4 separate regions of the Homo sapiens genome follow, and regions 2, 3 and 4 are each linked to region 1. The links are contacts of gene promoters, found by promoter capture Hi-C in blood cells and fetal thymus (Javierre and others, 2016). All regions are on one chromosome and are shown on one strand. The core of a region is centred on a gene start or on the middle of the fragment in contact, and the rest is flanking DNA. Distances in the headings are between cores, read along the strand shown.

The links. The method cuts DNA at HindIII sites, captures the fragments that hold promoters and counts their contacts. A CHiCAGO score of 5 or more calls a contact.
Region 2: a fragment that was not itself captured here is called in contact with the fragment with the promoter of POLR3E in region 1 in 1 of 17 cell types (erythroblasts); the score reaches 7.8 in erythroblasts.
Region 3: a fragment that was not itself captured here is called in contact with the fragment with the promoter of POLR3E in region 1 in 1 of 17 cell types (erythroblasts); the score reaches 5.9 in erythroblasts.
Region 4: a contact is called between a fragment that was not itself captured here and the fragment with the promoter of POLR3E in region 1, in 1 of 17 cell types (erythroblasts). The highest score is 6.6, in erythroblasts.

The regions. Positions count from the first base shown.
Region 1 is chr16:22,295,171-22,302,710 of GRCh38, reverse strand. It overlaps POLR3E (RNA polymerase III subunit E), which reads right to left and starts at 5,302. Exons shown (of 21, transcript NM_018119.4): 1 at 5,174-5,302. TRL-AAG2-4 (tRNA-Leu (anticodon AAG) 2-4) reads right to left here and starts at 5,571; the gene lies at 5,490-5,571. RefSeq lists silencers at 1,929-2,223, 4,082-4,221, 5,232-5,681 and enhancers at 4,432-4,571, 5,014-5,558. The HindIII fragment of the contact is 19,375 bases long and covers 1-7,540 here.
Region 2 is chr16:21,190,561-21,198,326 of GRCh38, reverse strand. ZP2 (zona pellucida glycoprotein 2) reads left to right here. Exons shown (of 19, transcript NM_001376232.1): 18 at 478-561; 19 at 705-877. The coding sequence ends at 847. Among named protein-coding and RNA genes, the nearest start is that of ZP2, 17 kb to the left of the region's middle. RefSeq lists an enhancer at 3,173-3,322. The HindIII fragment of the contact is 402 bases long and covers 1,294-1,695 here.
Region 3 is chr16:21,287,626-21,295,318 of GRCh38, reverse strand. It overlaps LOC105371125 (a long non-coding RNA gene), which reads right to left and starts at 4,849. Exons shown (of 3, transcript XR_950905.3): 1 at 4,817-4,849; 2 at 3,981-4,141; 3 at 1,360-2,064. It also overlaps a transcript of CRYM not described here. The HindIII fragment of the contact is 3,512 bases long and covers 3,777-7,288 here.
Region 4 is chr16:21,249,399-21,257,280 of GRCh38, reverse strand. ANKS4B (ankyrin repeat and sterile alpha motif domain containing 4B) reads right to left here. Exons shown (of 2, transcript NM_145865.3): 2 at 3,431-7,550. The coding sequence ends at 6,461. Among named protein-coding and RNA genes, the nearest start is that of ANKS4B, 20 kb to the right of the region's middle. The HindIII fragment of the contact is 220 bases long and covers 3,936-4,155 here.

The DNA of each region.
Region 1 (7,540 bases), core at 4,053-6,552:
GGTAGACCAAGCCAACAAGTGTGGGCTGCACCTGCGGGGAAAGGCAAATGACTGGCTTTAATGGTTTCTTCTCTGCTCACAGAGAATTCACTGCCAGACAGAAGGATAGAGGTTGGCTGGTCCCAGCCATGATTAAAACACTGGAGAACTGAGGGCCCTGGGGACGCTTTAAAGAGGAGCCAGAAGTTGAACAGGAAGACAGACAGTCCAAAGCTCTCTGATATTTGATTTTCAAGCTGACTTTAACTCGAATCCTGAGTGAGATGACTCTTCTGTGTTTTTGGTCTAAAAATGACCTCTTCACACACTCTTCTGTCCTGTATTCAACACAATGACCCTATGAGGTGTGGTGATTGTCACTGTTTTATAATGAACAGACTGGAACTCAGAGATACTGTGTGCATTTTGACCCAAAGTCACATAGCAAGCAGGATGATGAACTGGACTTCAAATCCAGGCTGTCTGACCTCAGGTGACAGGTACAGGTAGGGGAGTTGAGAGGCGGGAAAGGCCTTTCTGCTGGGGAGGAGGCACGTTAGGTGCGCCTGGAAGAAGAGAGAGCTTTGGGCAAGTCATGACAACAGAGGGGAGGAGAAATTCCAGGAAGAGGGAAGGCTGTAGGTCTCCACGGGGCAGGTTGAGTATTTCAGCTGGTCTGCCCCTTCACATACCCAAAGAGAAGAGGGGTGGTCATAGGTAGGATGGTACTCAGGCACCCCCAGGCCTCAGCAGTTCCCAAACCTCTGCTCTTGGGTGAGACTAGCATGAATTTTTTTTTTTTTTTTTCTTGAGACGGAGTCTTGCTCTGTCACCCAGGCTGGAGTGCGGTGGTACGATCGGCTCACTGCAACCTCTGCCTCCCGGGTTCAAGCGATTCTTGCCTTAGCCTCCCAAGTAGCTGGGATTACAGGCATGCACCACCAGGCCCGGCTAATTTTTCTATTTTTAGTAGAGACAGGGACTTGCCATGTTGGCCAGGTTAGTCTTGAATTCCTGACCTCAGGTGATCTGCCCGCCTTGGTTTCCCAAAGTGCTGGGATTACAGGCGTGAGCCACTGCGCCCGGCTGAGACCAGCATGATTTTTGTCTGATCTACTTAACATTTGAACTATCTAATATTTATTTATTTTTAAGACATGTCTTGCTCTGTCACCCAGGTTGAAGTGCTCTGCCGTGATTTTGACTCACTGCAACCTCTGCTTCTTAGGTTCAAGTGATTCTCCTGCCTCAGCCTCCCAAGTAGCTGCAATAATTGGCATGCACCATCCGCTCAGCTAATTTTTGTATTTTCAGTAGAGACGGGGCTTTGCCATATTGGCCAGGCTGGTCTCGAACTCCTGGCCTCAAGTGATTCACCTGTGTTGGCCTCCCAAAGTGCTGGGATTACAGGCATGAGCCACCACACCTAGACAAAAGCCAAAGTCTTTATCATCCCATGTAAACCCTAAACAATCTCCTGCCCCTTGACCTGCCAGACCTCATCTCCCACAAGCCTCCTACCCTCCTCTCTGCTCCAAACCCACTTCTGGGGCTTTGTAGCTGCTCTACCCCCCCGATAACCTCATGGTCCCCCCTTCACCTCTTTCCGGTTTTTGCTCAAATGTCACCTTGTGGCTAAGACCTTCCCTCTCCAAATCACATTGCAAACTGCCTCCCCCACCCCTCAATTCCCTTCTCTGCTCTGGTTTTCTCCATAGCAGGTGTCTATCACCATGTGACAGTTTACAGCTCTGCATCTGTGCCCATCTCTATTGCCACTAAGCTGTAAGCTATGTGAAGGCAGAGATTTTGGTCTATTTTGTCCCTTGTGGTACCCCAAGTGCCTAGTACACAGCAGGCACTCAATACATGTTTGTTGTCTAAATAAATGAACCATGGGAATGCTATTTAATAGGAAGCTACAGAAGGATTTCGGGCAGAGGAAGACATGGAGCGGGTAGAAAGAGAAACTTCAGGGAAACAGCTATCGTAACAGTCCCAGAGATGGAGGATGGAATGAAAATCAGGAGTCGCATCTGGACAGTTTCAGTGCATCTCGACTGTCTGCTGTGCAGACAGAGGGCAGTGTAGAGCGGAGAGCCCAAGGCCTCACCCCATCTGCACCGGCTGCCAAGTGCCACAGATATGTCAAGCTCCTGCCTTCTCTGCAGCTGGGCAGTGGACAACTGAGAGGCTGGGGCCTGGGAGGTTCCCAAGACGCAATTGTTCTTTCTTGGCTATTGCTATGCCCTGTTGGCCTCTGCCCTGCCAGGGATCAGGGAGGCTGAGGTGCCCTGTCAGCTAGAGAGCTGGAGCTCCTTCCTCTGGATAGTACATCTGGGTTGATACAAAGAGTGTCACCTCCCTTCATCCTCCAGGCCGAGGTGATCCAACTCAGTGGCTTTCAAAGTTTTCAGCCTAAGATCCACCACAGTAAGAAATCCATCTCATATAAATAACCCAGAACATACATACAGTTGCATAACTGAAACAAGGTTTCACGTAACTATAACTGTCCCTACTATATGTCAGGCCGTGATGTTTTCTACTTCATTCAAAACAAAAAATGCTAGCTTCAATTCCCTTAAATTGATTTTACTTCCCACTAATAAATTTTAACCTGCAATGTGAAAAGCACTCATCCAAGTCTCCCTACGGCTCCTTATACCTACCTCCAAGTCTCCCAGCAACAGTGAGTCTTTGGAAAGAAGTAAATCAGGCTGGCATGGTGGCTCATGCCGGTAATCCCAACACTTTGGGAGGCTTAGGTGGAAGGACTGCTTGAGACCAGGAGTTCGAGACCAGCCTGAGCAACATAGTGAGGCGCCCCCCGCCCCCCGGTCTCTCTTTAAAAAAAAATTTTAGCCTGGCATGGCCTGCAGTCCCAACTACTTGGGAAGCTGAGGCAGCAGGATTGGTTGAACCCAGGAGTTTGAGGCTGCAGTGAGCTATGATCACACCACTGCGCTCCATCCTGGGTCACAGTGTGAGACTCGATCTCTACTGGGGGGAAAACAAAGCCAGGCACGGTGGCTCACACCTGTAATCCCAGCACTTTGGGAGGCCGAGGCAGGCGGATCACCTGAGGTCAGGAGTTCCAGAAAAGCCTGGCCAATAAGGTGAAACCCCGTCTCTACTTAAAATACAAAAATTAGCCAGGCGTGGTGATGCACGCCTGTAATCCCAGCTACTCGGGAGGCTGAGGCAGAAGAATCACTTGAACCCAGAAGGCAGAGGTTGCAGTGAGCCGAGATCTTGCCACTGCACTCTAGTCTGGGCAACGGAACAAGACTCCATCTCAAAAAAAAAAAAAAAAAAAAAGTAAATCATATTATTTCCCTGCCTAAGACCTGTCAACTGCCACTGTCACATAAAATAAAACCCAAACTCCTTTCCATGAGCCACCTAAGGCCCTACATAATCTTGTCTCTGTCTTCCCCTCACCATCCAGGCTGGTAGCCACTTGCTGGGCCTCCAACAAGGCAAGCCCCAGTCCACCCCAGGTCCTTTGCACATCATCTATTCTCCCACAGGGATTTCCAAGGTTGCTCCTTTTTATTAAATATCATCACCGCCTGCAGGAGAGGATAGGTTCCCTGACCACCCTATTTTAAAAGCCTCCCCCAGCCTCCTCCCAGGCCCTACCACATCTCTGTTTTCTTTCCTTGGTGGGTCTCATCTTAATCTGGAACTACCTGGTCTATTTGCTCAGGTGTTGTTTGTCTTCTGCAATAGAACGTAAGCTCCATGAAGGCTTCTCAGTGCTTCAGTTTCCTCAACTATGAAATGCAGACAATCATACTTTACTTCATCAAAGCTGTTATGGGGAGCATTACTTTAAAAAAAAAATCCAGTGCTGGTTCTCTCAATACCTAGAACAGTGCCTGGCACGAAGTTGACACTCAATATAGTACAAAGAATACTTTATATTTAATCTTCTCATTAGCCCTATCAATAGAGATTTATCATCTTCAATTTGGAAATGACGAGACTGAGGTTCAGATATAAGCAACTCATCCAAGGTGGAATGAGGACAGAAACTTGGGTCTCGCTATGTCAAAGATCCTTATTCTTATTCTTAACCACTATACTGCACGGTTTTCTGATAAACGGCAGTATGGTTAAGTGGGTAAGAGCTTGGACCCGAGAACAAAACTGTGCAGGTTCAAATCCCACCACAGCTGCTTGGCATCTGTGACCCACCTGAGTTGTCTGGGTTTGGTATTCCTCCCTATTTTCATCCCTAAAGTAGGGAAACTAAGTACCGACCTCCAGACCCCTGCGGGGAAGGAGTAAGGACAGGACGCTAATAAACGTAACCTCTGGGAAGGTTTGTTATTACTTGACAACATGTTTTCTGCCAACGTAAGCGGGTAATGACGCTAAGCCACAAGTCAAACGCTGCAAGCAGGAGCGTCACCCGGTTTCTACTGAGCCGTCACCACAACCCTATGAGGTAGGAATTTCTATTATCTCTATTTCACAGATGAGGAAACTGTGGAGATCGCTAAGATCTCTTCTTTCCGCCTCCAAGCCCAAGGAATTCTAAAGCTAACCCAAAGGAACGACCTTGTTTGTTTACTGACACCTCCTCGGACCGAATGGTCAGGGCTGTATCCGGAACACAGAGTTGGCTCGGTAAACACTGAATGGTTGCCTGAATAAATGAATGAGGAATCCCTGGCCTCGCCGGGCAGAGGCTAATCCGGTTCAGCTGCGAAGTGGGGGCTCCGGCAGGCGCAGGTGCCCTCCCTGCCCATCGGGGCGGGCCGCCGATCCCGAGCCTCGCTGTCCAATGGGTTTCTGCTCCCTCGCGGGTGGTCAGGCCCCCCTTCTCACGCCCACCACGCAGTCCCTGCCGCGAGCCGCCACTACACCCGACGCGCGGACAGGTGTTTCTTCCGTAGGAGGCCTCCCAGGCCCGGATAGGGCAGGTCGGCTGGACCCTGAGTCACCGCCGCCAGCGTCGGCCGCGGCCTCCCCAACTCCCAGGTGTCAGGTCAAGGAAGTCAGAGTCCGGGGTCGGCCTGGAGCCGGCTGCCCCTCCTCCCCGCCCGAGTCCCGAGAGGCCTCCAGCTGCTAGGCACAGCGCGGCGCGGGCCTCCTTGGCCTACTCGGGAATCTAGCCCAGGCCCACGTCGTGAGTGCGGTCCGGCTCAAGCCCCAGCTCGGGCACTGCCAAGACGGGACTCACCTCTCCGCGGGGGCCGAGCGCGGACGGCGGCAACGGCCCAGTTACCCGCGGGCTGCAGAGACGGCGGCGGCCCGGCTCTCCTCTCAGGCGGCGGCCATGTTGCTGGTGGAGAAACTCCGGCGGACACGTGGGGGGGAGCGGGCCGGCCCCAGCGTTTCCTCTTACCCACAATGCCCCGCCCCGGTGCACGCGGCTCCGCCCCCTCCGCCGCGCCATTCATGCAGGCCGTGAGCCCCGCCCTGCAGCAGGGGGCGCTGATGGCACGCGCAAAACTGAGCCAGGAGTGTATGCAGCGGGGACAAAAAGACAGCAACCCTGGCAGCGGTGGGATTCGAACCCACGCCCCCGAAGAGACTGGAGCCTTAATCCAGCGCCTTAGACCGCTCGGCCACGCTACCCAGCTGCAATATGTTTATGCCAGAAAGCTACTTAATGCTTTTGCTTTTGCATTTAATCTGGACATTGCGAGGCGTTTTCGCTGAGGTTTTTTTTTTGCTTAACGTGTGTTCAAGGTGATCCCTATAGAATTATTTTAAAAAGCCGTGTTTTGGAAAATAAACACTTGCTCCAGTCTTTAGACCCAGGTTGGTTCCGAATAGGTATTAGAGCAAAACGCATTTTTAGAAACTTTACTCTGAGTTGGATGGTTAACCCGGAGACCCCTGGTTAACCCACAGGTAATCCATACGACCCGGATTGGGTGTCTCCGGGAGAAGAAATTGATCTGATCAGAAACATGCACCAGGGGATCTGACGGCCAAACCCTGGAGCTGGTCTGGGCAGTTGTCTCTGAAAAATTATGTTTAAATTTTTACTTACACAAATAACACGCGAATTATTGCAAAATATTTAAACTTTGCAGATAAGGTACAAATGCTCTTTGACCTTGACTCGCATCCTAGGCCCCTCCGCCGAGGTAACTAACCATTATTATCTGTTTAATATGAACTATGGTTTGAATGTGTCCCCCAAATTTCATGTGTTGGAAATTTAATCCCCAATGTGGCAGTATTGTGTGGTGGGCCCTTTAAGAGGTGATTAGATCATGAGGGTGGAGCCCTTATGAATGGATTAATCTCTTCATGGATTCATGGATTAATGGGTTAATGGATTAATGGGTTATCTTGGGAGGGGGACTGATGGCTTTATAAGAAGAGGGAGAGAGACCTTAGCTAGCAAGGGAGCAGCTCAGCACCCCCTCCATATGATGGCTTGTACTGCCTGGGAACTCTGCAGGTGTCCCCCACCAGCAAGAAGGCCCTCACCAGATGCACACTCTTGACCTTGGACTTCTCAGACTCCATAACTGTAAGAAATAACTTCCTTTTCTTTACAAATTACCCAGTTTCAGGTATTCTGTTATAAGCAACAGAAAATGGACTAAAACACTATATATCTTTCTAGATCTTTTGCTGTGAATTTATATGTTTATATCTATATGGATATATATAGATATAGCCATAGAAGATAGCTTTGTTTTTATTGTGTATGGATTTGAACACAAATATTGTCACATTATTCATATAGATCTGCAATTGGCTGTTATTTTTCACCAGACTGTATTTTAAAATACCTATCCGTGTGGATATGCAAAGATATTAAAAACAAAAATGCACAAAAATTACAAAGAAAAAAATTATCATCCATAGTGCCACCACCTGGCATTAAATTAATGACTTAGTATTGTGGCATTTTTTTCCTTTTCTTTTTTCTTTTCTTTTTTTTTTTTTTTTTTTTTTTTTTTTTTGATGTGGAGTCTCGCTCTTGCTGTCTAGGCTGGAGTGCAGTGGTGCGATCTCCGCTCACTGCAATCTCTGCCTCCTGGGTTCAAGCGTCTCTACTAAAAATACAAAAATTAGCCTGGCGTGGTGGCACATGCCTGTAATCCCAGCTACTCGGGAGGCTGAGGCGGGAGAGTTGCTTGAACCCGGGAGGCGGAGGTTGCAGCGAGCCGAGATCCCACCACTGCACTCTAGCCTGGGCGACAGTGAGAAACTCGGTCTCAAATAAATAAATAAATAAATAAATAAATAAATAAATAAATAAATAAAAAATAGATCACACTATTACAAATAGAAATTATTAGACCATTGCAAATAGAAATAAGTCCCCCTCCCATTCTCCCCTGTCTATAACTGTCATGAATTTGATGTGTATCTTTCCAATAATTTCTTACATTTTTACTATAAAATTTATGAATAATATCTAAAATGGTTATCTGTATGTTTTTCACTTATATAAATGTTAGCACATTGTACTGATATCCTAAAACTTGCTTTTCTCATTTCAACAGTATTATTATTATTATTATTTTAAGAGAGTGTTGCTCTGTCACCCAGGCTAGAGTACAGTGGTGCAATCATAGCT
Region 2 (7,766 bases), core at 245-2,744, 1.1 Mb after region 1:
GCCTCCCAGGTTCAAGTGATTCTCCTGCCTCAGCCTCCCGAGTATCAGGGATTACAGGCACCTGCCACTGTGCCCAGCTAATTTTATTATTTTTAGTAGAGAAAAGGTTTTACCATGTTGGCCAGGCTGGTCTCAAACTCCTGACCTCAAGTGATCCGCCTGCCTCAGCCTCCCAAAGTGCTGGGATTACAGGTGTGAGCCACCACACCCGGCCACAAAAAAAAAAAAAAAAAATCCTCTTGAATTTCTTGTATAGTAGTCAAAGATTTAAGATATGTTTCTAGCAAGATTAGGTCAGAGCATGTGCATCTTAACATGCTATGGCCAAACTTAAGTGTGTATTAGTTTGTGCCTGTTAACACATACCCTTACCTGAGATAGCCTTAATGAACAACCTGTGGGATCACACCCTCAGGGGACAGCTAACCACATCGACTAGCATGAAGATGTTGTACTAAACTCTCAGGTTCTTCCCAGGTGTCGGCTCATCTGATCTAAAAGCAAGTGGGAGCAGTGGGGAGAAGAGTAGGAGTGAAACAGGGGAGGAGGTTGGCTCACGAGGTAAGTTTATTCAATGTTGCAAACTTCTGAAATAAGCCTGTTGAAGGCTTAGTTTTACCCCCTTCTCTGGGGAGCCTTATGTAAGGCTTCCACTTACCCTTATTTAAAAATACTTAAGACTCAAATGTCTGCTTCCTTTGTAGGTGCTATGGACACCAAAGGGCACAAGACTGCTGGAGATGTTGGTTCCAAAGCTGTGGCTGCTGTGGCTGCCTTTGCAGGTGTGGTGGCAACTCTAGGCTTCATCTACTACCTGTACGAGAAAAGGACTGTGTCAAATCACTAAATGGGCTTCTAAATAAAGCAGTCAAAATAAGCCTCTTGCCTTCCACATTCTTATTAAGATTAGATGACAAGGGATCATTTCTTTTGTTCCTCAGTGTAGAGGCAGTACCTAGCCACAATCCTCTGGGCAGGATTTGTATATAGATACAAATAGGGAAGTTCATGGTATAATTGTTTCCTGTCATTTGGCCCCTTCTGATCCTCTAACCCCAATACATGAGTCCTCTGACACTCCCAGTCAACAGTAGGGCTTTAGCTATAGCCCAGCTCTGGGGGTACACTTGAGTCTACAAGCTCTTACACAGGATAAGAAGCCAGCAAGCTACCCATGATCACTGGCATAAATCCAACCCCCCTTCTTTTAAGGGAAGGGAAACCAGATGTTCCTAAGAAAGTAATATAAGAACTTACTTCAAGGTAATTCCTAACTCAAGTTACACTCAAGCTTACAACTTTCCTGAGCTTAAAAGGACTTAGTTACCTTCCCACTTATAACTAAAGACAAGCAATCTTTCTTTGGTAGGGAAAGGAATACTAAAGTGCCAGAGTCCTAAGGCTCAGTTATAACATTCCAAGAATCAGACTCCACCATTCAACTGAGCCTAGAGTGAGTTTTCCATTACCTGCATTCGATCTTGACCGTCTCCTGAGGCCTTCGTCCTGAGGGTAGCCAGTCTTATTCTAAGTAATTATGTCATCAACATGACTAGTGTCTGCTTTATACTGCAGCTCTTAGAGACCTTCAAGATATATGGAAATTCACTTGTATTCTAGAAAACTTGAGTCTAAAATTTTTGCAAGGAAATATTTCAAATCTACGTATGGCAGGAAGAATAAGTGATGAAAGCTTCTAGTGGCTGGATTTAAATGTCAGCTCAGTCATTATACTCTTGGGTTTTTCAAAAATCTAACCTTGAGGTTGAATATCGTGATGTCTATCTGGTCATCTTGTGGTTTTCTATAGGTGCAATCTCGGCTTATTGCAACCTTCGCCTCCTGGGTTCAAGTGACTCTCCTGCCTCAGCCTCCTCAGTAGCTGGGATTGCAGGCACCTGCCACCAAGCCCAGCTAATTTTTGTATTTTTAGTAGAGATGGTGTTTCACCATGTTGGCCAGGCTTGTCTCAAACTCCTGACCTCAGGTCATCTGCCTGCCTCGGCCTCCCAAAGTGTTGGGATTACAGGCATGAGACACCGTGCCCGGCACCTGTTCTAGAATTCTGCCACACAGACTTAAAAGGTAGCTTTCTAAATCCTTTGGTTAGGTCTTACAGATAAGACTCTGATGTAGGGAAAGAACCACACCTACCTTATGTAGAGGGTCTGGCATTTCTAGAGTAATAGGGTCAAAAGCTCAAATTGTCTCATCAAAAGCCTTCTTTGGACCTTCTTTTAAGGATCCAAGGCATTCTGCTAAATAGTTTTAGATTCAAAATTCTGTGTGACTTTATCAAGTTGCATTGTATATCATAACTAAATCTCACGTACCATGCTTTTTAATGGCATTTTTAAAAATGGCCACTTAAATGACTTCCTGACCCTGAATGACACCTACCCCCGACCCATGTCTAGGAATTACATCCTAATCCCTAGAGCCTGTGAATATTAGTTTTACATGGCAACATGGACTCTGCAGATGTGACTAAGGGTCTTGACATGGTAAGATCATCCCGGTGGGCCCAATCACAAGTGTCCCTATAAAACAAGAAGGTCAGCAGGGCACGGTGGCTCATGCCGGTGATCCCAGCACTTTGGGAGGCTGAGGCATGTGGATCACCTGAGGTCAGGAGTGCGAGACCAGCCTGGCCAACATGGTGAAACACCATCTCTACTAAAAATACAAAAAATTAGCCGGGCATGGTGGCGGGCGCCTGTAATCCCAGATACATGGGAGGCTGAGGCAGGAGAATTGCTTGAACTCGGGAGTTGGAGGTTGCAGTGAGCCGAGATTGCGACATTGCACTCCAGCCTGAGCAAGAAGAGTGAAACTCTGTCTCAAAATAAAAACAAGGTCAGAATAGGATGTATCAATGGAAGCAGAAATTGGAATGATAGAGAGTCACAGAAAACACAGGCCGCCTCTAGTAGGGGAACAAGAAAATATCTTCCCATAGAGCCTCTAGAAAGAGTACAGCTCTGCTGTACCACTTTAGACTTCTGACCTCCAGAATTGTGAGATAGCTTAACGGCATGAAACAAACTTGTTACAGCAACAATAGGAAATTAAAATACTGAGTCACTACCCACAACTTGAAAAACATGGCTTAAAAGTGCACATTTTACAGATGAGCAACTTGAGCCCTAAAGAAGCTTGTCCAGGATGTCACAGCCCCTTGATTTCAGAGCTAGAGCCTCTCAGCTGCAAGTTGGTCCACTTGTATAGAGTCATATTGGGAATCAAAGTCCCCTGGGTCTCAAGGCAGCCCACAGCGTGACTTGGTTCTGATGTGTTTGCCAAAAATGCTAAAGCAGAACTTTGAGAGTGGAAAGCCAAGCTGGTGTGGAGCAGCTGCCGGGATGAACACTTGTTGCCATGGTAGCCTGGGAGCAGTTGACTAAAGTCGTGTTCTTGCCTTCTGAAAGTAGGCATCCTACTATATATGGGGGAGGCAGCCTCCTCAGACAGGAACTGTGTGGGAAGAGAGTCGAGCTTAAATCCTGAGAGACTGCTGCTTCAACCACGTTAGTGTGCTTGCAATCTCCTTTATCACGTAGTGATGGGCTGTAATTGTCATACAGGTGTCAAGAGTAGAATGATGGAGCTTTGGGGTTCTAATAGTTTGAGCAGTTCTGATTGATGGTGGAGGTTGCAGGAGTTGAAAACAGACTTGTGTGCCCTGGGAAGGCACCTGTAATGTAATGTACTACTTTCCCCTGCCCTGTTCTGCATTAGGAAGTTCTGTGGGATGCGCAGGCTCTAGAGCAAGAGTTGGGTTTGGGTTCGGGATCTACGTCTCCCTGGCTGTGTGGCCTCGGGCAGATAGAACAATCTCTGAGCCTGCTTCCGCATCTGTAAAAAGGGAACACAACCTAATTTGGAAGCGTGTGAGGGTTCAACAAGATAACCGTTGTATTGATGTAGGCACTGCCCAGTCAGCATTGGAGTATCTCAACATCAAGAAAATAGCACTGTTCTAACTCTAAATAAAAACTCAGATAACATTATGGACAATAACTGTGACTTGAATAAGTCTGTGTGCTATATACCAAGGCATATGTAATCAAGTGCATATGTGGTAGAATGTACACCTGATTGTACAGACCTCTGGCCTAGACACCATCTACCAAACTAAAATCTTTAGGGAGACACCACCTACAAAACTAGACACTATCAGCTGGGCATGGTGGCTCACTCCTGTAATCCCAGCACTTTGGGAGGCTGAGGCAGGCGGATCACCTGAGGTCAGGAGTTTGAGACCAGCCTGGTCAACATGGTGAAACACCGTTTCTACTAAAAATACAAAAAATTAGGTGGGCATGGTGGCAGGTGCCTGTAATCCCAGCTATTTGGGAGGTTGAGGCAGGAGAATCACGAACCCAGGAGGTGGAAGTTGTAGTTAGCCAAGATTATGCCACTGCACTCCAGCCTGGACGACAGAGGTAGACTCCATTTCAAAACAAAACAAAAAACAAAAACTTAGACACCATCTACTAAACTAGAATCTTTAGGGAGTGGAGTCTAAGCATGTTTAGGCTCTATAGGAGGCTAAATCATGGCCCCAAAGATATTCACGTGCTAACCTCTGGGACTTGTGAATTTTCCCTAATATGGCAAAAGGGACTTTGCAGTCATAATTAAGGTAAAACGGTGAGATGGGGAAATTATCTAAATTATCCAGGTAGGCCATACATATAACTGCATGTGTGCTTGTAAGAGGGAGTTTTGACTATGGGGAGAAAGCAGTACAATGATGGAAGCAGAGGTTGGAGTGATGCACTTTGAGATGGAGAAAGGGCTATAAGCCATGGGATACAGGGGAACACTAGAGGCTGGAAAATGCAAGGAAATGGATCCTCCCCTAGATCCTCCAGAAGGAACCAGCTCCACCGACACCTTGGCTTTAGTCCAGTGAAAGTGATTTCAAACTTCTGACCTTCAGAATTGTAGCAGAATAAATCTATGTTGTTTTAACCCACTAAACTTGTAATAATTTGTCTAAGCAGTGAAAGAAAACTAATCCATGCTCCTCAGATGACTCTGACACATATCCCTGGATAGAAATCACTGTGCTAGTGAAGGCAGAGCCTACCACACTTCATCACAGACAACACATTACAAACACACACTGTTGCTTGCACATAGGATCTAAAAGCATGGGGAGCAGTTTATAGCTTCAGGAACTTGGCACTTAAGTTGCAACTAGTTCCATTTCCAAACAGTGATGTATCGTAGTTGAAAGAAGAGGCATTGCTGAGAATACAGGTCCTGAGACAGGGGTGAGAAAAGAAAAGAACTTTGATCTGAGAAATATAAGTCCTTCTAAACTATCAGGGCCAGAGACAGTAAGATGAGATAGTCAGCTGGGTGCCGTGGGTCACACCTGTAATCCCAACACTTCGGGAGGCCAAGGTGGGCAGATCACGAGGTCAAGAGATCGAGACCATCCTGACAACATGGTGAAACCCTGTCTCTACTAAAAATACAAAAATTAGCTGGGCATGGTGGCGCACACCTGTAGTCCCAGCTACTCAGGAGGCTGAGACAGGAGAATTGCTTGAACCTGGGAGGCAGAGGTTGCAGTGAGCCAAGATCATGTCACTGCACTCCAGCCTGGCAACAGAGTGAGACTCCATCTCAAAAGAAAAAAAAAAAGGAAAAAAGATGAGACAGTCATCACATCCTACTCCTCCCTTGAGCTAAGTATCCATCTCTTGAAACTGCTTACTATTGCCACAAGTAGCTTTAAGTTAACCTAATAATGCTGCACCAGACATATAACCACACCCTATAGCTTAACAATGTATAGCCAATCACACATCAATGTTATTTCTGAAAAACAATGAGAATTCCTGACAAAGAACTGTGCATCAGCTCACTCCCTGTCCCCCCTTTTTTGCCTTTAGAAATCCACTTGTAAATGCTGCTAATAGGAGTCTATAACTCATGTCAACTTGAATCCATGCTCCGGGGTTGCAATCCTCAAACTTGGCCCCAAAAAACTCTCTACTTTTAATTCTGCCTCAGTTTCTCCCTTTTAAGTCAACAGGGAATTTAGTTTCTCTCCCATTGGATGCAAAGATGTGAATTACCTCTGATAGTGCCCACCACTGTGTCAATAACCAGAAAATCCACAGCACAACATTGCTTCTGGTTTGAAAGTGATGATGTGTTGAGTGGGAAGCTGTCTCATCGTGGGCAGCACAGGGGTTGCGGAAAGGTAGAACATGCAGCCTGTGGCACAAGGTGTGTGCTCAGGCTTATTCTCGGTGTTGTGGGCTCAATTGTGTCCCCCCACAACAAGTTCACATGAAGTTCTTACCCCCAGTGTATATGTTTTTGAAGTCCTTACCCCCAGTGTGATATATTTGGAGGTGGGGCTTTGGGAATTAATTAAGTCATGAGGATGGTGCCCTCATAAAGGGGATAAGTGCCCTTAAAGGAAGAGAAAGGAGAGTGAGCTTCCTCTCTCTGCTCTCGGCCATGTGAGGATACCGCAAGATGACCATCTGCACAGCAGGAAGCAGTCCCTTCCTCTGAATTGTCTGTTTATAGCCTTTGTTTAATTTATACTAGATTTTAAAAGTCCTTTTCCTATTGATTTTTAGGGTTTCTTTATATATTCTGAATGCTGATCCATGACTGTTCGATTACAGGAACTCTATGAATACGTCACAGAAACAGGTCAAAAAATACCCTCATATGATGACATCCACAGACACGAAGAAGGCATTCACTGGAACCTGAGATTCACACATGATAGAAAGCCCTTTGAAAATTAGGATGAGAAGCATGATAATCGTATCTCTTTTAAAGCAAGGTGCACATCAGACTTGCAGAGGAAATAGAAGTATGCTCGCTGAATTGGAGGACTGAATTGTGTGACCCGCAAATCGATATGTTGAAGTCCCAACATCAGAATCTCAAAATATGGCTGGAGGAAGGGTCTTTAAAGAGATAATTGTGGCTAAGTGCAGCAGCTCACGCCTGTAATCCCAGCACTTTGGGAGGCTGAGGTGAGTGGATCACCTGAGGTCAGGAGTTCGAGACCAGCCTGGCCAACGTGGTGAAACCCTGTCTCTACTAAAAAAAAAAAAAAAAAAAAAAACTAGCCGGGCATGGTGGTGCAGGCCTGTAGTCCCAGCTACTCAGGAGGCTGAGGCAGGAGAATCACTTGAACCTGGGAGATGGAGGTTGCAGTGAGCCAAGATCACGCCACTGCACCCCAGTCTGGGCAACAGAGTGAGACTCTGCCTAAAAAAAAAAAAAAAAAAAAAAAGAGGTAATTGCATTAACATGAGTTAATAGGATGAGCCCTAGTCCAATAGGATTGCTATCCTTATAAGAAGAGGAAATTCAGACACAGGCAGAAGACACAGGGAGAAGACAGCTCTCTACAGGCCAAGGAGAAACCAAGCCTGCTTGGCATCTTGATCTTAGACTCCCAGCTTCCAGGATTGTGAGAAAATAAATGTCTGTTGTGTAAGCCACCCAGTTTGTGGTACTTTCTATGGCAGCCTTAGCAAATGAATACATATGGTCCTCATTATAGCAAGTTCCATCTGCTAAGTCTAGGGACTGCAGTGTGGGTGCTGGGCTGTTAGGCAGCATTGGTTACTTTTCCTTATCTCAAGAGTATGAACCCCTGACTGAGATTCCAGATTTAACTAAATCCTCCTTGGTCCTGACCTTTGCTCACACAGCACATGAAGACCCTTACTTTGTGAATAAATACAGCGAAAACACAAGTGTACTGGGGCAGA
Region 3 (7,693 bases), core at 4,283-6,782, 1.0 Mb after region 1:
TGTGGAGAAATAGGAAAAAACACTTTTACGCTGTTGGTGAGAATTTAAATTCGTTCAACCACTGTGGAAGACAGTGTGGTGATTCCTCAAGGATCTAGAACCAGAAATGCCATTTGACCCTGCTATCTCATTACTGGGCATACACCCAAAGGAATACACATCATTCTACTGTAAAGACACATGCACATGTATGTTTATCGCAGCACTATTTGCAATAGCAAAGACGTGGAACCAACCCAAATGTCCATCAGTGATAGACTGGATAAAGAAAATGTGGTGCATATATACCATGGAATACTATGCAGCCATAAAAAGAATGAAATCAGCACGGTGTGGTGGTTCACGCCTATAATCTCAGCACTTTGGGAGGCTGAGGTGGGTGGATTGCGAGGTCAGGAGATCGAGACCATCCTGGCCAACATGGTGAAACCCTGTCTCTACTAAAAATACAAAAAAATTAGCTGGGCGTGGTGGTGTGTGCCTGTAGTCCCAGCTACTTGGGAGGCTGAGGCAGAAGAATGGTGTGAACCCAGGAGGTGGAGGTTGCAGTGAGTCGAGATCGCGCCACTGTACTCCAGCATGGGCAACAGAGCAAGACTGTCTCAAAAAAAAAAGAAAAAAAAAAAAAAAGGAATGAGATCATGTCCTTTGCAGGGACATGGATGAAGCTGAAAACCAACATTCTCAGCAAACTAACACAGGAACAGAAAACCGAACACTGCATGTTCTCACTCATAAGTGGGAGTTGAACAGTGAGAACACATGGGCACAGGGAGGGGAACATCAGACACTGAGACCTGTCAGGGGGTGGCGGGGAAGGAGAGGGAGAGCATTAGGACAAATACCTAATGCACATGGGGCTTAAAACCTAGATGATAGGTTGATAGGTGCAGCAAACCACCATGGCACATGTATACCTATGTAATAAACCTGCACATTCTGCACATGTATCCCGGAACTTAAAGTAAATTTAAAAAAATAATAATAATTTGCGAATAAATTCTGCTCCGCACCCTCCAGAGCCAGGGAAAACGGTCCAAAACTGGGACTGCAGACTACTCCTGCTTCAAGACCACGACCACTCCTGTGCCAGGGAGGGAGAGGGGCAAGGGCGTGTAAAATCATCACAAAACTATCCACTGTTTTGAAGTGACTTTTTTATTGGTTCAGTATTCATTTGGTTGCTATAAACTTTTGATTGTTTTCCATAGTCCTGACAAAATTGGTTCAGACAGTTTCTGCTAATTTTTGAAGCTTTTGTGAGATGGTAATGAGAAGTTATGCGTATTCTACCTTTTTGCTGACAAATTGTTCTCCAGTTTCCCGTATATTGATACTTAGTTACTATTTCCCTCTGCTTTGTGGTTAGTTTCCTTTGGCAGGTGAGGGACAGGAATTTTCATCAATTGAAGTATTTTGATATTCTTCTGTTTCCTTCTTATGGCATATTAAATTGATTATCTGAACCAACAATAACAAGTGATTTAATGGATGAATGGTAATATTTTGATTAGTTTGTAAGCTTCTTAGTACATATTCATCTTCTTCTATTAATACAGTGAAGTGCAGTTTCTTTAACAAATAGAACTTTTTCTAAGGGAATGAAGCGACTCAATTCTGTGATTCTTGCTAATATCTGTATGAAGTTAAATTATGCTGGACATGTCCTTATTTCTCTTTGCTACCCTAATTCTAAAGGGCACTTCTATTTTCTAAGTTGCTTCTCTCTAACCTCCAAATTAATATCTCTCAAGATTAACATTTATAGCTTTGCACATTTTCAAGCCTCTTTATTTATTTCCCCCTATAACCAGGATTTTGATTGACTAGGTCTAGTTCTCAGAGATTTTTTTCAGTATTTCCCAGCTCATGATGGATCTACCGCTGTTGCCACTGTGTTCCGTATTCTCTTTTCTGCAGAATCCTCACCTGCTCTCTATGAGAGATTCCCTTGTTCACTGTCTCCTGTAGCACTCAGATTTGCTTTTCCCTTGGTGCATCCAAAGTGGGTGTTTCAATCTACGCTGTCTTTTAGAATGCACAGTTTTCACAACCTTCTTCCTACTGGGATAGAGTTAAGAGGTTATAGGGATTTTATTTGTCTGTTTGCTAGGTATCAAATAATCACAAGCTTTTACAGGTTAGGGCCATGACCACTAATTGAAATGACTATCCTTTCTCATTTGAATTACTTTGGCACCTCATCTGAAATCAACTGACTATACATGTATGAATCTATTTTTGGACTCTGTATCTTATTCTATCTATCTATCTATCTATCTATCTATCTTCTATCTACTTACCTATCCATCTATTCATTCATCCATCCATCCGTTCATCCATCAATCCATCCATCCATCCATCCATGCATTTATCTTCTCTGTCTCTACTCATGCTAATACCACACTGTCTTAATTATCGTAGTTTTATAATAAGGTTTCAAATAAGTTGGTGCAAAGTCTTGCAATTAAAAAAGTATAGTTTGGGATAATAAAGTTCTTTTGAATCCAAAATCAATTGGCCATACATGTGTGAATCTATTTTTGAACTCTGTATCTTATTCTATCTATCTATCTATCCATCCATCCATCTGTCATCTATGTCTCTACTTATGTTAATACCACATTGTCTTAATTACTGTAGTTTTATAATAAGTTTTAAAATGAGTTGTCACAAAATCTTGCAATTAAGAAAATATATATTTTTGGATAATGAAGTTCTTTTGAATTTCCATATAAATTTTAGAATCAGCTAAATTTCTACCAAAAATAAAAAGCCTCTAGGATGTTGATTGAGATTGTTTTGAGCGTATAAATCAATTTGGGGACAATTGACAATTTAAAAATATTGAGTCTTCTGATCCATGAATAAGGTATATTTCTCCATTATCTCAAGTCATCTTTAATTTTTCTCAGCAATGTTTTCAGTCTTCAGTGTACAGGTACTGCACATCTTTTTTAAAATTTTCCCTAAATGTTTTATGTATTTCATGCTACCACAATGGTATTGCCTTGAAAATGATATTAGCAATAGATATTTCTAGATTTCCTTACTCAAAGTGAAGATGTTTCATTCTAGTCCTCCTTTGCTGAAAAGTCTCTTTTTTGGTAGATCATTCATTTTTATTGCTGAGGGTATTCCATTGTATGAATAATTCACAGTTTGATTACCCATTCACATGTTGATGGACATTGGGTTATTTTCAATTTTTGGCCTTTATAATTAAAGCTATTTATGAATGTTTGCATACAAGTGTTTCTATGTTCATATGCTTTCATTTCTCTTAAGTAAAACTTCTAGAAGAAGACATCCAATCAAGCTTTTGTGACTCTGTATTGGGCAAAGTTTTTTAGATATAGCACTAAAAGCACAATTCACTAAAAAATGATAAATTTAACTTCACCACAATTAAAAACGTTTGGTTCTTAAAAGATGCTTTGAAAAAAATAAAAGGCCATAGTCTGGGACAAAATATTTGCAAATGGCTTACTACACAAAGGGCTGATATTCAGAACGTACAAAGAATTCTCAAAACCCAATAGTAAGAAAAAAGACCAATTCAACAATAAATGAAAGAAAAGTTCACCGGTCACTTCACCAAAGATGATACACATGTGGCAAATAAGCACATGCAAAGATGTTGAGAAGTTTCATCATAAAAGGGTGTTAAATTTTTTCAAGTGCTTTCCCCTCTATTGAGATTAATGTATAATACAATATAGATACTAATCACAGAGATTCTTTCCCACAGAGAAAATGCATTATGCACATAAGCTTTGAATCTTAGTGCTATCTTGTACAAATTTTGTGGTGTTGAGCAAGTTTTTACATTGTGTAAGGTTTAGTTTTTTCAAAATGAGGATAACATATAACTTGAGTTATTGTCAAGATTCACAGTAATGTAGGTAGAATTATTCACATGTAATAAGTAATTGACTACCAGTAGCTCTGATGAGATTTGTAGAGCCTCAGATACTCACTTTCTGTACTGTAATTTATGGAGTTAGGAATACTTTTCAACAGGAACACAACATATTCACCTCTTGGATATCATAGTATTTGCTGATGCTCATCCCAAGGTTATAAATGGGTACCAGCAGGAATGAATCAAGCAGAAAGTTTTTAAAAGTATTATTCCAATCTGCAATGAAAAAGATAATGTTAGCATGCTTTATATGAAATGAACTGTCCCAGGATAACAAAAGTCTCCCAAGTTGATAAAATTAAACAGAGAAAATTAAAAGCTGTAACATTATTCTCACAAACCCTCCGTTTTTAGCATAAAGTATACTACCCCTGATTTCTTGAAACATAGTTTGTGTTGATAATTACAGCTTTGGAAAATCCTTTTGGGAAAGCTGATGTCCATATCATCTGTCTTCCTGTCATCTCATGCGAACAAGAAACCAATGCTGATTATTTCTCATACCGTTTATTTTATATAACCAATGAAAAAGCAAAGATGTGATAGGAAATGTAGCCTAGGACTCAACAGTGGAAAGAGGATAAGGAATATATCATCAGTTGAAAGGACATACATCCTCAGAGAAACAAACTTGATGCTGAGATTCCTCTAAATACTAAATTAAATATGTATAACAGTTTATGAATATATATGAGTAAATAAGAAACATGTTTAAGAGGTAAGGCTCTGAACTGTCACTGTAAGACTTCAAGACTGAGTTCAAATTACTGGAAAAAAAGATGAAATTATAAGTCTGAGCAAAAAGCATATTTGTAAGATGCTTTTGTGGCCAGAATTGGTTCCCTCCCGTGGGTTCTTGGTCTCGCTGACTTCAAGAAAGAAGCCACGGACCCTTGCGGTGAGTGTTACAATTCTTAAAGATGGTGTGTCCAGAGTTGTTCCTTCAGATGTTCAGATGTGTCCCGAGTTTCTTCCTTCCAGTGGGTTTGTGGTCTTGCTGACCTCAGGAGAGAAGCTGCAGACCTTTGTAGTGAGTGTTACAGCTCTTAAAGGTGGCACATCCAGGTTGTTTGTCCCTCCCGGTGGGTTCGTGGTCTCACTGACTTAAGGAATGAAGCCTACAACCTTCGTGGTTAGTGTTACAGTTCACAAAGGTAGTGTGGACCCAAACAGTGAGCAGCAGCAAGACTTATTGTGAACAGCAAAAGAAAAAAGTTCCCACAGCATGGAAGGGGATCCGACATTGCCACTGCTGGCTCTGGTGGCCAGCTTTTATTCCCTTATTTGGCCCCACCCACATCCTGCTGATTGGTCCATTTTACAGAACACTGATTGGTCCATTTTACAGAGTGCTGATTGGTCCATTTTACAGAGTGCTGATTGGTCCATTTTACAGAGTGCTGATTGGTCCATTTACAATCCTTTAGCTAGACACAGAGTGCTGATTGGTGCAATTTTACAGAGTGCTGATTGGTGTGTTTACAATCCTTTAGCTAGACACAAAAGTTCTCCAAGTCCCCACTCCACCCAGAAGCCCAGCTGGCAATCAGTACTCTGTAAAATGGACCAATCGGCACTCTGTAAATGGGCCAATCAGCGCTCTGTAAAATGGGCCAATCAGCAGGATGTGGGCAGGGCCAAATAAGGGAATAAAAGCCGGGCACCTGTGCCAGCAGCCCAGCTGGCTTCAACTCTCACTTTGACAGAAGAGAGGGTGTCACCTGAGTGAGGAGGTAGAGGGTAAGTTTGCACCTAATATGTAAATTCTTATGACATTCTTATGACAAAATGGTAGAAGTATGTCTTTCCCTATCAGTGATTACATTAAATATAAATAGATTACTGCTCCAATTAAAGGATAGAGATTGGCAGAATGGATTTTAACAAGCATGATCCAACCATATGCTACCTACAACAGATTCAATTTAAATTTAAAGGCACAAATAAAAGTTTAAAAGACAGAAAAATATATTCAATGCAAACGGTAACCAAAAGAGAGCTGGAATGATTCTACTAATGTCAGACAAAATAGGCTTTAAGATAAAAACGGTTATAAGAGATGAAGGACATTATATACTATTAAATGGGTTAATTCATGAAGAAGATACAACAGTAACAAACATATATGGTCCTAACAACACAGCCCTAAAATATATGAAGCAAAAACTGACAGATTTAAGGGCTTTCAACAATAGTAGTTGGAGATGTCAATACCCCACTTTAAATAATTATAGAACAACTACATTGATCAAACAAATATAAGATATGAACAACAAAATAAACCACCTGACCTAAAGGTATATATAAAATACTCTACCCAACAATAACAAAATACACATTTTTTTCTCAAGTGTACATAAAAAAATTATCCAGGACAGACCATTAATTAGGCCACAAAACAAGTCTTAATAAATTATAAAAAACTGAAATAATATGAAGCATCTTATTATGACTGCAATGGAACAAAATTAGAAATCAGTAACAGAAGGAAATCTGAAAATACACAAATATGTGTAAATTAGACAATACAAACTTAAGCAACAAATGAGTCAGATAAAAAATCATAAGGGAAATTAGAAAATACTTTGACATGAATGAAAACAAAAATATGGTATACCAAAACTTATAAGAAAAGCAGTTTAGTTTTTTCACATTTATTCTTACATTTAAAACTATTTCAAATAAATAATCTAGTCTTCCACCTTAAAAACTGGAAAAAGAAGAGCAAACCAAACCCAAAGCCGGTGGAAGGCAGGAAATAATAAAGACTAAAACAGAGATAAATAGAGAATGTAAAAACAACAGGCCAGGGAAAATATACAATCCCTTTAAAGAATCAACACAAATCAAAGACCTTTATATTGACTGACCAAAATAAGAAAGAAGCCTCAAATTATTAAAATCAGGAAACTAAGAGAAGACATTACTACCAATCTTACAAAAATTAAAAAACATTACAAGAGAATACTATGAACAAATGTAGGGCAATTGATAACCTAGATGAAAAGGACACAATTCATAACCTAGATGAAAAGGACACATTTCTAGAAACACACAAACTACAAAACTAACTCAAGAACAAGTAAAATATCTGAATAGACCTATAATAAGATATTTAATTAGTAACTAAAAACCTCTCAGCAAAGAAAAGGTTGGGATAAGATGGCTTCAATGGTGAATTCCACCAAACATCTAAAGAATAATTTACATTGGTCCTCCTGTTTGGTTTTTAAATAAACAACCAATTGTCCTATTCTCTGACACCCCAACTGGGTGTCCTACAATTGAATTCAATTCTAGCACTACAAAGTATTTTCGAATTTCCCTTGTGATTTTTTATTTGACTCATTTGTTGCTTAAGCTTATAAGTTAGCACAGACTCCATGGGTTAAAGAACCAATCCCACAAGATTGCACCCGCTTTAGACACAGCCACAAATAGGGAATACAGGGTACCTGCACTTCTGCCTGGATAACTACAAATGTTAGGACTCCCACAATTGTTCCTCTGGTTTGATAATGTGCTAAAAACAACTCACAGAACTAAGGAAAGTGCTACATTTACAATTACAGTTTATTACAAAAGAACAGGCAAATGAAGAAGTGCACAGGGCAAGGGGCATGGGACACAGAGCTTCTGTGCCCTCTCCAGTGTGCCACCCTCCCAGCACACCGATGGGTTCACCAACCCAGAAGCTCTCCAGATCTCATTGTTCAAGAGTTTGTATCAAGACTTCATTATGTAATCATGATTGGTTAAAGCAATGGC
Region 4 (7,882 bases), core at 2,796-5,295, 1.0 Mb after region 1:
TCTTAACAAAAAGAGGACTGGGTAGTTGAAAGGCAAAATCTAAAGATGTCCACTACAGTATCCATGTTAAAAGGGCCATTAAGGATCAGCTAGTCGATCTTCAACTTACGGATGGGGAAACTGAGGTGCAGAGATACTTTCTCCAGGCCCCCTGAATCACTAGCAGAACCGTGTTGTCCTTGTCCTGCCAAAGGCCCTGTCCAAATCCCACTCCGACCCTAGCCTCACCCCACCCCTTCGCTTTTTGCTACTCCAAGGCTGGTTTTCAGATAAGTCAGCAGCAAAGCATGGCTCTGTTTTCCTGACCATACTCCTCCTGGGAAGGACTCATGCTCCAGATGGTTTAGCCAAAAGTTTATCATATTTGCCAGACTGTCTGGACAGGGGTCTTTGTGCTGAAACAAAATACCCACATTACCCACATGATCTGATTCTGCATATCTCAAGTGACTATGGAGTCTTTCTGAGGAATCCTGATGGTCACTACCCTAAAGGATATATAGAGAAGAGCATGGAATGATGAGAATATTCATATATCTTTTCTTTCATTCTTTTCGCAAGAGCCCCTATCATAACCCTGTGCTAGCTTACTAAGATACAACAGAAAAGTAGTCCTCAGCCCCAGAGAACACAGCCTCGAAGAGAAGACAGATGTTAAAAAAAAAAAATTACAATAATTTGGTGTTACAGGAACATGGTTCAGGGTCCCTGCAGGAAATGCAGATGTTCCTTGACTTATGATGCAGTCGTGTCCCAATAAATTCATCAAAAGTTGGAAATATGTGGCCGAACATGGTGGGTCATGCCTGTAATCCCAGCACTTTGGGAGGCCAAGGCAGGCGGATCACCTGAGGTCAGGAGTCCGAGACCAGCCTGGGCAATATGGTGAAACCCCGTCTATACTAAAAATACAAAACTTAGCTGGGTGTGGTGGTGCACACCTGTAGTCCCAGCTACTCAGGAGGCTGAGGCAGGAGAATCACTTGAACCCAGGAGGCAGAGGCTGCAGTGAGCCGAGATTGTGCCAGTGCACTCCAGCCTGGTTGACAGAGCAAGACCCTGTCTCAAAAAAAGTTGGAAATGTGTCAAAAATGCATAGAAAACACCTACCAAACATGATAGCTTAGCCTTGCCTACCTTAAATGTGCTCAGAACACTTACATTTGCCTACATTTGGGCAAAATCATCTGGTAACACGGTACACTGTTCACTGTCAATTGATTATCCTGGTGATCACATGGCTGATTGGAAGCTGTGGCTCGCTGCCTCTGCCCAGCATCCTGAGAGAATATCTTACCAGTTTCTACTGAATGCGTATCATTTTCACACCATCGTAAAGTCAAAAAATCTTAAGTTGAACGATTGTAAGTGGGGAACTGTCTGTAGATGCCACACTCAAAAGGTGTGATTGAAGAGAATAAAGAGACTGTTTAGGAAGAAGCACCCCAGGGTTAGCAATAGTAGGAAATCACTACCACTGCTAAGCTTGAAAGAGCAGTTAGTGAAACCCAGAAACAACTAGAGCTATAGCAGAGGGCTGCCAGATGGGAGAGGTGAGCTTAGATGAAGGCAGCTGCTGCCCTGAAAAGAAGAAACAGGTAGAATAAATGCCTCAATCTTTCTTTCTCCCACCTTCTGGTATCTTGTTAGTAACTCCCATTGGCCAGACCCAACCAGGATCCCAAGGGCAAGGGAGCCCTTTGATGCAGTCCAGAGCCCAACCACCTGGGACACAAAGTAGGTTGGAAAATAGTAGAGAGAAGTTCTGGAGAGGCAAACAAAGAGAGCTTGCACAGATAGGAAGCTACTCAACCCAGACTAGGGGCAAAGAGAGAGGGTATGTCTCCCAGTGAGGATGGCTATATGGAGGAAGACTTTTCCAGGCAGAAGGGTGATGGTATGCTAAGGCACAGGCATATGAGAGACATGTATTCAGGAAGCCACAAGAAATCTAGTATAGCTGAAATTAGGGGACAGGGAGAGGAGTGGTCAGAGATGGGACCAGAGGTTTGGAGGAGAGAATAGGGCTCTTTAATCATGCAGGCCTTCTGTGTGGTGGTGAGAGTTTGAAAAGCAATGGTGGCTGAGCCCAGTGGCTCACGCCTGTAATCCCAGCACTTTGGGAGGCTGAGGCAGGTGGATCACCTGAGGTCGGGAGTTCGAGACCAGCCTGACCAACATGGAGAAACCCTGTCTCTACTAAAAATACAACATTAGCCAGGCTTGGTGGCACATGCCTGTAATTCCAGCTACTTGGGAGGCTGAGGCAGGAGAATCACTTGAACCCAGGAGGCTGAGGTTGCGGTGAGCTGAGATCGTGCTATTGCACTCCAGCCTGGGCAACAAGAGCAAAACTGCGTCTTAAAAAAAAAAAAAAAAAAAAAGCAACAGTAAAGTAGAAAGTGACAAGAGACTTACATATTAAAAAGATTACGTGACTCAACCAGCCTTGTGGAGAATGAATTAAAGACAGATAAGGATACTTACAGCAATCCAGTGAGTGATGGTTGGGGGCAGGAACCAATAGGTCATCTTGCAAACATCAAAGAGGATTTAGCTCTGAGACATATTGAAAAGTTGAAAGGGCCTGGTGACCAATTGGGTGATGAAAAGAAGTATTGGGTTAAATTTTCCATTTATGAAAAATGAAGATTTAGAGCTGCATGTTTTAATGCAGCTGAAACTGAGCACGATCACTATTTGGGTCTCGATAATTCATTGTGGTGGTGGGCTGTCCTGTACATTCTAGGATGTTTAGCACCCATTGTTTCTACCCACTGGATGTCAGTTGCACCACTGTTCCCCTATCATGGCAATCAAAAAATGTCTCTAGATATTGCCACATGTCCTCTAGGAGACAGAGGGCAAAATCATCCAAGTTGAGAACTGACAACCTGGAAGAAAATGGGTTCAGTCCTGGACACACTGAGTATGGGGTACTTGTGAGACATGTGAGAGGAGATGTCAGATTAGATTTGGGCTTAAGTATTTGGTGCCCAAAGCAATGGTCTGGGCTGGTAACTTGGACTTAGGAATTCTGAGCATATAACTGACCTGTACTACACAATGGCCTGAAATATAAGCACAATACACATTTACCACACTATAACTTCTCAAACTCTCCTCTTCGGTGAAATGCTCCCAGCTGCTTTTCCCTCTTGTTGACTTTTATGTCAAGCTACATAGAGGGGGAAAAGAGGGGCCAGGAGGTGGTAGGGGTGACCAGATATTGGATTGAGCTACTCTAAGCATCTAGTTTAAGAGATGGAGGTCTGAGATCAGTGAGTACTTGAAGCTCATCCTGGCTCATAATCCTCTTGTCTTTGTCTCTTATCAAGGCCTTTGTATTGCTCTGGCATCTTCTCTTAGCCCCTGTAGTTGGTATTTAGTTCGAAAGATCTGGAATTCTTAGAACATTGATAACATCTTATAACATGGTATAAACCTTTTTTTATTATATAACAATACTCTGTGACGAAGAGACTATATCCTTGATGCTGAGAACTTTGGAGAACGCTCACCTATTAATTCTGTCAATCATAAAAGAAAAGAACCCCTAAGAAGAGCATAGAGGTACCTGATGAGACCCCTAGTGGCAAATATCTCCTAAAAAGGGATGAGAGTCAATGTTCAAGTTCATTTCTACCAACCTGAGTGATGGCTCTCTTGCTATGATGTAGTTACAGCAGGGGGTGGAGCAAATATCTCATTAGGCAGATTCCGGGCAATAGGTGAAGAGGGGATTCTGGCATCTATGATGATGAAATATAATAGTGGCAGGCACAGACTACAAACTTTTTTGAGCACTTTCTATTTGCCAACTGCTTCTGTGCACGTTAATGAAGGAAAGCACAACTTCAGTTTATTCCACAAGATAAGGTATTTGTAAACAATCATCCCCTAATGCAACGTGTTTATTCAATGGCTAACAAGCTTTCTGAATATATTCATTGAGGAAGAATAAGCCAATTGTTCATCAGATTTGAGCATCTGTATCCTCCCTAAACTTGAATCCTCCATGATGCCTCTTGAAGTAACCCAAACAGATGTGCATCAGAAAGCAAGCTGAAGATAAACAGCTGTTTCTGTATTATACCCAGAATCAACAGTAAATTCCACTTGATGTAAGTCAGCCTGTAGAGATCTAATGAAGCTTAGCTCTTCAGTGGGGTTTCAGTTTGAATTTGGGATTGCCATTGAAAAAATGTCAGCAGCAGTGTTGTCAGTTTCTTTTTTCTTTTTTTTTTTTTTTTTTTTTGAGATGGAGTCTCTCTTACCGCCTGGGCTAGAGTGCAGTGGTGCAATCTCAACTCACTGCAACCTCCACCTTTTGGGTTCAAGCAATTCTCTTGCCTCAGCCTCCCAAGTAGCTGGGATTACAGGCACACGCCACCACACCTGGCTAATTTTTGTATTTTTAGTAGAGACGGGTTTCCGCCATGTTGGCCAGGCTGGTCTTGAACTCCTGACCTCAGGTGATCTGCCTGCCTGGGCCTCCCAAAGTGCTGGGATTACAGGCATGAGCCAAGTGTTGTCAGTTTCTATCGTGGAACCTACACATATTCAGATATGCGGCAATGGTGACAGACAACAGTAAATAAACCATGTGTACATAATAAGCATGAAAATGTGAAATTTCCTTTGACAATCAAATCTTCCCTCCAAAGAACTTAGTTTTTTTTCCCCTTAAGTTTCACTAGGTGTTTACCCTTACAAAACTCATCAATTGCAGTTGGACAGACTTTTTTTCTGTATTTTTCTTGGTCTCCTCCCCAACCCTCTTACTTAGGACAGTATTATTCTGCTAGGACTGCCATAACAAAATGCCACAGACTGGATGGCTTCAACAACAGCAGTTTATCAACCGAAGTTTATTTTCTCACACCTTTGGGGGCTGAAAGCCCAAGATCAAGGTGATTGCAGGGTTGGTTTCTCCTGAGGCCCCCTCCTCGGCTTGCAGACGGCCACCTTCTCACTGTGTCCTCACGTGGCCTCTCTGTGTGCCTTCCACCTAAGTGTCTCTTCCTCTTCTTAGGACACCAGTCCTAGGCCAGGTGCAGTGGCTCATGCCTGTAATCCCAGCACTCTGGGAGGCCGAGGCAGGTGGATCACCTGAGGTCAGGAGTTTGAGACCAGCCTGGCCAACATGGTGAAACCCCGCCTCTACTAAAAATACAAAAACTTAGCCAGGCGTTGTGGTGCACGCCTGTAATCCCAGCTACTCAGGAGGCTGAGGCATGAAAAGTGCTCGAACCTGGGAGGCGGGGGTTGCAGTGAGCTGAGATCACGCCACTGCACTCCAGCATGAGTGACAGAGCAAGGCTCCATCTCAAAAAAAAAAAAAAAAAGGGAAAAAAAGGACACCAGTCCTACAGGATTAGGGTTGCATTCTTATGACTTCATTTAACCTTAATCACTTCTTTAAAGGTCTTATTTCCAATTACAGTCACATTAGGGGTTAGAGCTCCAACATATGAATTTGACGCAATTCAGTCCACAACAGGTACCACCTGTATTCTATCTCTTTCTTCACTCTCCCCACCACCACTCTGTCTCTATTCTCAGGCAGGAGTATTATAGACGCATTTCCATTACTTGTAAACATGTACACATTTGTTAAAGGGTTAGATGCATTTAAGTTGGGCATCAAGCCGCAGGCCAGGAAAGAACTCTAGTCTCTACCACTAGGCAAAGTCATAGATCTCAGGAGAGAAAAAGAATTGGAATTCCCAGGTTACACAGATCGGAAAGCAAGCAGCAGGATAATGTGATGAGATTATAATTTTAAATCCAGAGATAGAAAAGTAAAGGAAGTTTCTTTCATTTTCCTGTCATGCATATGACCCTTTCTTTATTCAAAAGTATCAAAAAGATAGGCTGGGTACGGTGGTTCACACCTGTAATCCCAGTGCTTTAGGAGGCTGAGGTGGGAGGATTGCTTGAGGCCAGGAGTTTGAGACCAGCCTGGGCAATGTGGCAAGACCCCACCTCTACTAAAACATACAAAATAAGCCAGGTGTGGGGGGTGTGAACCTGTAGTCTCAGCTACTTGGGAGGCTGAGGTGGGAGGAGATCATTTGAGCCCAGGAGGTTGAGAATACAGTGAACTATGATCATACCACTGCACCCTAGCCTGGGTAAGAGACTGAGACCTTCATCTCCAAAAAACAAAACAAAACAAAACAAAACAACCACAAAAACAATTATATGTACATATAAGATAACTGAAGAGAAATGCCAGATTCTTGTTATGAAGTCTCCTCAAGTTTCTCATGGAGATTTATTTGGATGGGCATAGCCTACCTCCCAGAGTAAAGTTTGGGTCTCTCTCTCAGGTAGGCATTTCCGATGCCCTAGAATCCATTCCCAGTGGTCTGGCATTGGGTAAAGAGGGGGTGCCGCCTGGAGTGCTGCCAGCGGGCCACAGCATCACCCCAATGCTCCAGGCCAAAACTCTCCATCACAGGCTGGTGTCGACCAGCTGCCCAGGCTGTTGAAGCACCTGCTTCCTCCTGTTGATAGCATTCAGAACTTTCTTCCTGGGACCCAGCTGCATTTGTATGCTCTGAAGGTCCTCATCAGAGCAGAGCAGCAGAGCTTCTAGATCAATCTGCTCTCTCTTGAAGATAGGCAGGAATTCTTCCAGGTGCTGAGACAGCAAGAACACTTCCAGGGGCGTGGCATCGACCACATCTTCCTCCCACTCCACTTCATCGTCATCCCACGGCAGATCATCTTTGAGGCCGTTTTCCTCTCCCTCTTCATCAGCTGCACCCTCATCAGCCTCTGATGCTCCTTGTCTTTGAAGCAATTCACTGGGCAGTTTAAAACCAAACTCTCTCTTGCTATCTGAGATGTCTTCAGGACTCGATATCCTGTTCCTTCTAAAAACAATACTTCCTAGACCTGGACGATTGAGAATGGATTCATGGTGCACACTGCCGTCCTCCTCTGCTGACAACTGGAGCTTCTCTTTGAAGTCCCCTGAGAACGAGTCTTCCTCTTCCTCTCTGAACACTTCCATCACGTTCCTCTGCCCACTTCTGCCTTCCTTCCCCACCTGTTCTGCTGTATCTTTGTTCTTCTTGAACTTGATCTTGAAAGTGTCTTTAATGCCCTTAGATAGTGACCCGAATGTGCCAGGAGCAGAAGCATTTGAAGGGGATGATCTGGAGAAGGTACCCTTGGAAGAAGAGAGAGTCCCGGATTCCTCCTTGCTGTAGGTGTGGGCCATCTTATTTTGGTGCTTCTCCTGGAGCCTCTCACACTCTTTGATCTGCCTCCTGGCATTCTTCTGAGCCTGCTCCTTCAGCCTGGTGACCTTCTTGGGGTTCATGATGTTCTGTGCAGTGGCAGCCTTGTCCAGGAGAGCAACACATTCATTCTGCTCCCTGCTGGCAGCAGCATCCAGTGGAGTCTGTAAGTCATTATCCAGGGCAAAGATGTTGGCACCAAAGTTGACCAGGAATGAGACGCAGTGGGCATGGCCATTGGAGGCTGCAAAATGTAGAGGAGTGTTTCCCCAGATGTCACACCTATCAGGGTCCCCTCTAGAAGAGAGAGAGAGAAAAAAAATACATGTTGGACTTTTTTTCTCTGAACGCAGGCCCAAAAAAATCAAAACAAAAATAAAGAACAAAAGGCACGTTAATACAAACATGTTCATCCTGACTTGACATTGTTATAAGATACTGGCTGCAAGTCCAACTGTCTTAGAACCATCCCATCTTAAAACCACATGGCCAGAAACAGAGCCCATCTCTACCGTGTGTCTCCTTTTTGTTTGTTTCCTTTGTTTTGTTTTGAGACAGGTTCTCACTCTATCTCCCAGGCTGGAGTGGAATGGTGTGATCACAGCTCATTGGCAGCCTTGACCTCCCAG